Regions from separate parts of the Homo sapiens genome. Here region 2 is linked to region 1. The links are contacts of gene promoters, found by promoter capture Hi-C in blood cells and fetal thymus (Javierre and others, 2016). All regions are on one chromosome and are shown on one strand. Each heading gives the region's core, a stretch centred on a gene start or on the middle of the fragment in contact. The rest is flanking DNA. Distances are from core to core; before and after follow the strand shown. Region 1 holds the start of LY6D (lymphocyte antigen 6 family member D). Region 2 has its middle 14 kb from the start of CYP11B1.

Region 1 (4,943 bases), core at 1,155-3,654:
CTGAGACTTCCCATGCCGGGGACATGTGGTCAGCCTGCAGGAGCCTCTGGCCCTCTCCAGAAGTGGAAGGGCCCCTTGCTGGGGCATCTGCCGGGGGCCTCATCTCACTGCACGTCCCAACCTCATCCCCGAAATACCAGAACCCACGCAGTGGGTGCGGAACCCTCCCTGCCTCTGGGCGACCTCATCTGGCCCATATTCCCTGCGTCATACTCCCCGCCCAGTCTAGCTTCACCCTGGTGAGGTCTGGCCAAGGGGCTGCTGGGTTCCCATAGATAGGGTCCATGGGACTTTCCTGGATGGTGGCTGAACTTTCCCTGGGCAGCTGGACTTGCCTTGGCGATGGCTGTAGGTAGTCAGTGCCTACTTGGCTCCAAAGCTGGGGTTGGGCCTGGGGTGTCCCAAGCCGGCCTCTCTGGAGGCTCCTGAACCCCGGTCTCAGAGACATGACCCGGGGTGAAAGGCTGAGGGGTTCCTTCTCCCCTAGGTGCTATGTGTGGGAGGGGCCTGCGAGCCCTCTTACCCTGTGCTCCTACTCAGGCCTCACCCCAGGAGTGCCCTCCACCTCTGGGGCGGTGGGAGGCATCTGAGCAGCCTGCCCCTTCCAGGGTGGGGACGGACGGTGCCACCTCAGGCATCACCCCACGACTGGCCCCAGGGGACATGTGCTGGAGGCTCAGGGTACCTATGTGGCCTGATATCCGCCCCTCAGCTCCTCCGTCCCAGAATAGCACAGCCACAGCCACACTGGTTTAAATCATTTATCTCCATGTAGAGATTTGAGTACAAAAATAAACGGCAACAAAACAGAAGGAGTGTGAAATCCGGGGATCCACAGGGCTTCTGTCCTCCACCTTCCATGCAGCTGGGGGCTGCATCCTCTGTGGGGTGGCTTCATCCTCTGTGGGGTCTGTGGGGCCTGCTCCAAGTCATCAGCATTCCATGCCCACCTGGACCTGGTCCCAGACTTTCGGGGAAGCCCTCAGCCTGGGGCTCCTGGCACCCCCGTTGCGGCTGGGGAAGAGAGGTGTGGAATCCCCAGAGAAAGGGAAGGAAAGGCATGAGGGGCCTTCCCTGGGGGGAAGGTCACAGGCTGGGGGCTAAGATGACGGCCAGGAGGCTCAGGGCCAGCCCCAGGCTGAGGGCACTGTGGGCGAGGGCGGTGCGGGTGGGTGCAGCGTTGTGCAGCTTCTCATTGCACAGGTCCTCCTGGCAGCACTGGGTGGAGCTGGTGCCGCTGCTGACCTGGCCTTGCAGGGTGTAGCTGGGTGTGCACGACTCCGCACAGTCCTTCTTCACCAGATTCCCCCTCAGAGGCTCCACTGGGCACAGGTGAGTGTGGTCAGGCCAGGCAGCCACCTCTGCCCCCCACCTCCCCACAACCTTCCAGCCAACACCCACAACAGCCAGGGATGTCCCCCAGCCCCAGGGACACCTGGACAGATGCTACCCACCTGTGTTCGTGGTCTTGCAGAAGCGAGAGCTGGCCGGGCAGACCACAGAATGCTTGCAGTTGCTGGAGCTGGTGCACACGTGGCAGCGCAGGGTAAGGGCTGGCGGGGAGGGAGTCCGGCTCAGCGGGCCCAACAGAGGCCTCCTGGTGACTCAGCAGGGCCTGCTCCCCCACCTGCAGAGACCCCTCCTGGACAGAGGCCCTGCTGCCCTTGCCCTAGGCCCCCAAACCCGGGCTCTGGGTCCTGGCAGGGCATGTGCCCTGAGTGCAGCCTCAGGGGACATGTATTCCAGCCTGGGCCGGCTTGGAAGAGGTGTCCTGCCCTGCCCCTGTCTAGGGTGTGTTGCAAGCCTTTCCTCCAAGGTCTCAGGGAGCTCTGCGACTGCCAAGAGGACACTGGCTCTTGTCCCCACCCCAGGGGATGTCCCTGGAGGAGATGGCTATGTTTCTGAGGGCCTGACGGAGCTAAGGCCCCGGGGGCAGCCAGCTTGGCTGCTCTGAGCCTATGACAGGAAGGGCTTGGTGGCCTTTGGGCTGTCCTGGGCTGTGCTGGGGGAGACCTGGGGACCGGGAGGGGCTGGTGGCAGGGACTAGATGGCCGCTCTCCCAGTGAGAAGCATCTCAAGACAACCCCCTGCTCCACTCTCTCAGGGTCCGTGACTCCAGGAGTCAGTTCTAAGATCCTCAGATTCTGAAACATTGTAAATCTGACACTCGTTAAGATTCGGGCTCCATGTTGTTTTAAATTTGAAGAGTCTAGCACCCACAGTGTCGGGGTTCTCTGTGCCTAGATGTCGTCAGCTCCAGGCTCCTAGTATTTGGTGACCACACAGGCCACAGCCGCCCACCCGCCCGTCCCCTTGGCCCAGCCCCTCACCTGGCCCTGTAGCCACAGCCAGGGCTGCAAGGAGCAGCAATGCTGTCCTCATCTCTGATGTCGTCTGGGAGCAGTGCGGGCCCCTGCATTGCCAAGGCCTTATAGGCACGGGCTGGGCGGGGGTGGGCAGTCCGCCAGCCAGCGGCATTCTGCAGGGCTCTGTGCAAGCGTCAGCCCAGGACGGGCACCTGCCCCACCCTGCCTGGCCCACGCCCACCAGCCTGGCTGTCGCTGGGCGCTGCCCCTGCTGCCCCCCGCCAGGCAGAGGTCTGCCCTCCGCAACGGGGCCCAGTGGCCTCCTGGCCCTGCTGTTCCTGCTGCTGTGCCTCCATCTCTCCCACTTTCACTTCTCTGTCTCTGTGGGTCTTGTTCTCTCGCTGCCGTCCGTTCCTGGGTCACTTTGTCTCTGACCTGCCACCCGCTACCCCCCGCCCCCCACCCCCCACCATCCATCACCATCCTGTGTCTTTGTCCCTGCATTCCCCCCATAGTTCCCTCAATAGAGTTGCAGCCTGTGCCCGGTGCCCTGTGGGTGCCCGTGGGTGTCCAGGGCAGGGGAGGTAGGAAGGGCAGGTGCTGGTCCTACTCTCCTGGCTCTGGGCTCAGGGTTGCTGCCGGGGATGCAGAAGGTCCTTGAGCTGCAAGGGCTCGGGGTGGCTGTGGGCTGATGGGGTGTGTGAGGCAGAGGCAGAGGCAGAGGCCACTCCGAGGCAGGGAGGGCAGCTGGGGCAGCAGTGAGGTGAGCACTGGACAGAGTGAGGACTGTGAGGACCCGGCCCTCGAAGTTGCCTGGGGAGCCCTGTGGGCAGAAGGCCCGGGCTGTGGAGGCAGCAACTCCACCCTGCGTTGTGCAGGGAGAGACTGAGCCCTCCTGGTCTCCACCAGCCCTGCCTCCCGCCCTCCAGGGCCCCAGAAGCCCTCCCCGTGGGATTCCTTCCCCCACTCTCCAGGCCCCTCCTGCTACGTTGGGGGCAGCGCCATCCCGGCCACTTTGTAACTATTGCTCTAGGTGTCCCGGCTCCAGTCTCCCCAAAATCGTGAACTCTTTGGGGCTGGGCCCCAGCACCCAGGGCCTCAAAGCAGGTTCTTGGTCTGCTGCCCGTTGAGTGGAGGCCAGTCCCCGCCTTCACCCTCTTTATACTCACAGGAGGGACTTTCTTTCCCTGGAGACGGGGTCTCTGAGCACCCACCGCCTCGCGCAGGAGCCCACCTCTTGGGGCCCCCATCCACCTGCTCAGCCCAGCACGCTCTGCCGCTCGCCTGTGCTGGGCAGCACCCACCTGAGTGGTGTGGAGGGGCCCACAGACTTGCTTTGCCCCTGCCCTGGCTAGGCTGAAGGTGAGTGGGAGCCGGGGCACAGATGGAGGTCAGCCCTGGGCCCAGCCTCCTGCCGCCGCTGCCACGTGGCTGATGAACAGACAACAACAGGCCCAGGGCAGGGCAGGGCCGGTTCCGAGGAGGGTGGTCCTGGGCTGGGCTGAGGCTTTTGGGAGCACCGTGGGTACTGGGGCCAGTCAGGCCTGGGCTTGAGACAGACCCTCTGGCCCTTCCTCCCGGCATCTCTCCCTTGCTGAGCCCCACGTCTCAGATGCCGGGGATCCCAGCAAATGTCTCCTGAGAATGCTCCTGGCCGGGCTCTCCCTGACACAGTGCCGGGGCCTGGAGGATCCACCTACAGGAGGGGTTGCCTGGTGGTGCCTTTAGAAACCAGGGTGCAGGCGGGAGCCCCCTGGGGCAGCCCCACATTTGCATCTGGTGCCTGGCCCTGGCTGGAGCTTGGTGGGGACGTGTGTAGTCTCACTTGCCAAGGCAGGTGACCCAAAGGTCCATGCCCCCACCCAGAGAGAGGAGGTTTCCTCCAGCTCCAAGGCCCTGTGTCCATGGGTCACAGTGAGAGGCATGGGCAGCTTGGGGGAAGGTGCTTCCAGGGGCCTTGGGAGGCAGAGCTCAGGGCTTGGTGGCGGGGTGATGACTCGGTGGGCATGGCAGGTGGGGAGGGTGACTCACTGTGGCCAGGGGCATGAGAGCTGCTGGAAAAACAGGTTTGGAATTCCTGCTGGGTCTGGTGGAGCTGGAGGGTCCGGGATGTCAGGTGGCCTGAGAGTGGGTTCTGAGTGTGGGGCCATGGGGGAGTGTGCTCCCCACACCTGGGGCTGGAGGAGGGCCCTGCACACCTGGCTCACCCCCGTGGGACACCTCAGGCATCACTGTGGCTGCGTCCCTGCCAGGCATGGGAGCCGGAGCGGGGTTCCAGTTTTGTGGGATGAGGGCCTCTGACCTGGCAGGGCTGCCCACGAGGATGAGCTGCCCATCCCAGGTGGTCCTAGCAAAAGCATGAACAGCAGCCCTACACAGTTCACTTTCAGGAGAAAGCGGGTGCTTCTGATGCCAGGAGCCCTTGGACAGCTGAGCTTCTGGGGACAGTGCAGTCAGGGAGGGTTTCTTGTAGGCAGTGACCTGACTAGAGCCTCAGAGCCAGGGATTGGAATGTGGAGAGGAGACACTGTGGCCCCTCATGTCAGTCCCTGCCCAGTGCTTGTTCACTGGTGAGGAAGTGAGGGCCAGAGAGCTCCAGGCACGTTCTGGGGCAGAACCTGGTGGGGTCTCAAGCAC
Region 2 (4,943 bases), core at 1,597-4,096, 79 kb after region 1:
TCTTTTCAATGTAGGTGTTTAATTCTATAAAGTTTCATCATAGCTCTGTTTTTGCTGTACCACAGAGGTTTTGATGTGTTTTATCTCTACTTTCATTTGTTTCAAAGAATTGTTTTATTTCTTAATTTTATTGTTTACCCAAGAATCATTCTTGAACAAGTTGTTTAGTTTCCATGTACTTATGTAGTTTTGAGAGTTCCTCTGGATATTGATTTCTAATTTTATTCCACTGTGTTCTGAGGATACTTGATACGATTTTTTTAATGTTGAGACTTGCTTCATGGCCAAGCATGTGGTCGATTTTGGAGAATATTCCATGCATAGACGAGAATGTATATTCTGTGGTTATTGGGTAGAATGTTCTGCTAATATCTATTAGGTTCATTTAGTCTATAGTCCAATTCAAGTCCAGTGTTTCTTGATTTTCTGCCTCAATGATCTGTCCAGTGGTGTCAATGAGGTGTTGAAGTCCCCACTATTATTGCATTGCTATCAACCTGTTTTCTTAGGTCTACTAGTATTTCTTGCATGAATCTGGGTGATCTGGTGTTGGGTACATATATATTTAGAAGAGTTAAATCTTCTTGTTGTATTCAACCCTTTGTCTTACATAATACCCTTCTTTGACTTTTTTTTTTAACTGTTTTTGGTTTAAAGTTTGTTTTATCTGATATGAGAATGGCTATTCCCACTTGCTTTTGCTTTTCATTTGCATGACATATCTTTCTCTACCTTTTAACTTTGAGTGTGAAGGTGTCTTTAGCCAGTAGGTGGGTCTCTTGTAGGCAGCAAATGATTGGGTCTTATTTTTTTCATCCAATTTGCCACTCTTTATCTTTTAAGTGGAGCACTTAGGCCATTTACATTCAAGGTTAATATTGGTATGTGAGGTTTTGTTCCTATCATAGTGTTGTTAGGTAGTTGTGTTGGAGTTTAAATTGTGTAATTGCTCTATAGGATCTGTAAACTTTGCACTCATGTGTCCTTCTATGATGGCAAGTATTGTCCTTCTGTCTCCATGTTTAGAACTCCTTTGAGTATTTATTGTAGTCTAGTGGTGACAAATTACCTTAGCATTTGCTTGTCTGGAAAAGACCTCATTTCTCCTTCATTTATGAAGCTTAGCTAGCCAGGATTATACAATTCTTGGCTGGCTTTTTTTTTTCATTAAGGCAGCTAAAAACAGGCCCCCAATCTCTTCTGGCTTGTAGGGTCTCTGCTGAGAATTCTGCTGTTACTCTGATGGATTTTCCTTTACAGGTGATTTGACCCACCTTTCTAGCTGCCCTTACGATTTTTTTTCTGGCATTGACATTGGATAGTCTGATGACTATATGCCTTGGTGATGTTTGTCTTGTATAATATCTCACAGGTGTTCTCTGAATTTTTTATATCTGGATGTCTACCTCTTTAGCAAGATTAGGGAAATTTTCCTGAATTATTCCCTCAAATATGTTTTCCAGGTTGCTTACTTTTTCTTCTCTTTCAGGAATGCCTATAAACTGTAGGTTTGGTCACTTTACATGATCTCATATTTCTCAGGGGCTTTGTTCATTTTTTATAATTCTTTTTTCTTTATTTTTGTCTGACTGGGTTAATTCAAAAGACCAGTCTTCAAGCTTGGATATTCTTTCTTCTGCTTGGTGTAGTCTATTGTTAAAGCTTCCAACTGTACTTTGAAATTCCTTAAATGAACTTTCCTTCTCCACAAGTTCTGTTGGGTTTTTGTTTCTAAGATATTTACCTTTGTCTTTATTTCCTGGAAGGCTTTCATGGTTCTTTTGTGTTGGTTTTCAACCTTCTCTTGGATCTCGTTGAGCATCCTTACAGCCCATACTTTGAATTCTTTACCTGTCATTTATGAGTTCTCATTTTGGTTGGGGTCCATTGATAAAGAGCTAGTGTGATCCTTTGGTCACAACATTCTGATTTTTCGTGGTGCCAGAGTTCTTATGCTGATTCTTTCTCATTTGTAGAAGCTGACACTTCTTATTTTTGAATTTATTTTCATTCTGATTGTTTTTTTTTTCTCTATTATTCCCCCCAACCCTTGGGGGTGTGACTGTGGAGTACTTGGGCAGGGTCTTTTGGCTTCCCTTCTATAGCCCTCTGCACCTCGGTCAGCAGGTTTTATAGTGAGTTGTGCAGTTTGACCTGCAGGCCAGTAGGTGGTAGTTATGGGTAAGAATTGGCTGCAGCACAAGTGGATGGGTATGAACTAGACCTTTGGCTACTGTGAGGAACTCTCTGTTGTTTCAGGTGATGGGCTGGACAGTGGAGTGCCTGGCACCCTGAGCTATCTGTTCAGTGGATGGGGGACACAGCTAGGCAGAGCTGGATCCCCTGGCTTGCCCATAAATACCCCAATGGCAAGCACAGGCACCTGGGGAATTGCACTAGCTCTATGTCCTAGATAGGCAGGAGCACAATCTGTTTCCCTATCACACCCCTGTGCCAGGGCTAGTGACTTTCATTTCAGATGCACACTGTGGTCTATCTCTAGGCCACAGTGTAGCGGAGAGCCACGGAAATGCCAGTCCTATGGCTCTCTGTGGGAGTGGTTTTGGATATAACCTCCACTCAGTCCGATACAGACAGCTTTGTGGCTCCCCTGTTCCCCAGGGTGGTAACTGCTGGCGGGTGGGGAGGGTCTCTGCCTTTCAGCCTGTGTGGGCAGGTTTCAGTTGCAGTGACGTCAGCTGGTTGGGTCAGCCCACCTCAGGCCCTGGGGGAGTGGTCAGGTATCAGCAGTGCCACAATAGGCTAGATAATTCTCTAATTCCTAGGTCCCTAGATGGCCAGTGAATGGTATATATGAGTGCTGTAGGGACTGGACCAGGATCCGGCCGGCCCAGAGTTCAGGTGCTAGATGTGACAGGGAGGGGTAGACTGGTCCCTGGCCACCAGCCAAACTCTCAGGTGCCAGCAGGCAGAATGCTCAGGCAGTGAGAGCCTGAGGGCAGATTATAGGCCTTTGGGGGCTGGGCTGTCAGAAAGGCTCCAAGCTGCAGCTGAAAAGGTCAAGTGAGAGCTGATGCTTGTGCTGTGGCCCTTTCACTAGGGAAGGCAGACCCCCCGAGCTGCGACACTGGAGACTGGCAGCTTCAGAGCGCGTGGCCCATCGCACTTCCCTCCCACAGAAGCAGCGCTGGATTTTGCTGCTGGGGCATGTGCAGGTGCCTGGCCTCCCTGCTCCCTCCCTGGACCATGGGTGGCAGGGGTGGAGGCAGCAGTGGCAGTGACTACTGCATGACCCACAGGGCTTATCAGTGGTTTCTGGGGGTTGAGATTTCAGGGAAACGCTGAGCTATGGGGTGGCTTTGCTGGGGCCCTGTTGCCAATGCAGGCACACCCCATTTGGTGGGGAGCAGCAGAAGTAGGAAGCCATGCAGTGCGTAGTCTGCCTGCTCCTCCATACCATGGGTGCAGCATCTGTCTTTGGGGAATGCAAAAGTGCTCAGCCTCCCTCTTTGGCATGGTAGCAGCAGCTGGTATTAGGCTGTTCAGGGATCAAAAGCCTGTAGGATTCCACACAGGTTTGAGGGGTGCCTCTGTGCTGTCTCCAGGCAGCTCCCTGGAGGTCTGGGGTACTTGAGTGGTCTTTCTCATGTCTAGGATTTTAAAGGCCCATGGCAGAGGTGTGGACACCTGGGGTCTCTCACTTGCCCACCACTTGCCCACATTAGGGAGCCTCTCCCAACTCTGCCTGTACCAGCTCGGAGGGTGCCATCTTAGCTCTCCTAGGCTGTCTGTGATTCCTGTCATTTCTCTGTTGAATTTCAGCATGCTCTCTTAGATGATCTACTTGAAGTGTTAGTGTTTACTCATGATTTTGATTCCTCTCTGGGAGAGAGGTGCCCAGTAGCTGATCCCAGTCAGTCATCTTTAAGCACTTTATATTTTGAGGACATTAGCACTTTATTTGTGATGTATTTTGCAAATATTTTCTACTAGTTCATCAGTTGTCTTTTGATTTGTTTACATTTTTGCAATGCAAAAGATTTTTTTGTGTTGTCAGATTTATTTATTGAAAAGCTTTTATTTATTAAAAAACCTTTTCCTGTATCCAGGTGTATTAATTTGTTTTCACACTGCTATAAAAAACTGCTTGAGACTGGGTAATTTATAAAGAGGTTTAATTGACTCACAGTTGTGCATGGCTGGGGAAGTCTCAGGAAACTTACAATCATGGTGGAAGGTGAAGGGGAAGCAAGGACCTTCTTCACAAAGTGGCAGGAGAGAGAGAGAAGCAAGGGGGGAAGTGCCAGATACTGTCAAACAACCACATCTTGTGAGAACTCGCTCACTGTCATGAGAACAGCATGGGAGAAACTGCTTTCATGATCTAATCACCTCCCACCTGGTCCCTCCCTTGACATATTTGGATTGCAATTTGAGATGAGATTTGGGTGGGGACACAGCCAAACCATATCACCAAATGTATTAGTGCAGGTCCTCTAGAGAAACAGAATCAGTAGTTCCAATGGATCTCTCTCTCTGTCTCTAAATATATACTCTGTGTGTGTGTGTGTGTGTGTGTGTGTGTGTGTGTTTTCACATGATTTGGGGGGCTGGTAAGTTCAAAATCTGTAGGCCAGGTCAGTAGGTTGGAACCTCTTGGGCAGGAATTGATGCCGCAGTCTTGAGGTAGAATTTCTTCTTCTCTAGAAAACATTAATTTGGCTTTTAAGCCCTTTCAACTGATTGGATAAGATCCACCACATTTTTGAGAGTGATCTTAATCTTCTTTACTTAAAGTCAATTTACTGTTGATGTTAACTACATCTACAAAATACCTTCACAACACAGAGCGATATGGTTTGGCTGTGTTCCCATCCAAATCTCATGTTCAGTTGTAATCCCCAGTGTTGGAGGTGGGGCCTGGTGGGAGGTGACTGGATCACGGGGGCGGAGTTCTGATGAATGGTTTAGCACCGTTCCCC

What was found. The method cuts DNA at HindIII sites, captures the fragments that hold promoters and counts their contacts. A CHiCAGO score of 5 or more calls a contact.
Region 2: a fragment that was not itself captured here is called in contact with the fragment with the promoter of LY6D in region 1 in 1 of 17 cell types (total CD8 T cells); the score reaches 5.7 in total CD8 T cells.

Annotation. Positions count from the first base shown.
Region 1 is chr8:142,784,135-142,789,077 of GRCh38, forward strand. LY6D (lymphocyte antigen 6 family member D) reads right to left here and starts at 2,405. Exons shown (of 3, transcript NM_003695.3): 1 at 2,331-2,405; 2 at 1,455-1,553; 3 at 748-1,322. The coding sequence starts at 2,382. The coding sequence ends at 1,087. The HindIII fragment of the contact is 15,715 bases long and covers 1-4,943 here.
Region 2 is chr8:142,862,878-142,867,820 of GRCh38, forward strand. No RefSeq gene overlaps it. Among named protein-coding and RNA genes, the nearest start is that of CYP11B1, 14 kb to the right of the region's middle. The HindIII fragment of the contact is 2,373 bases long and covers 1,661-4,033 here.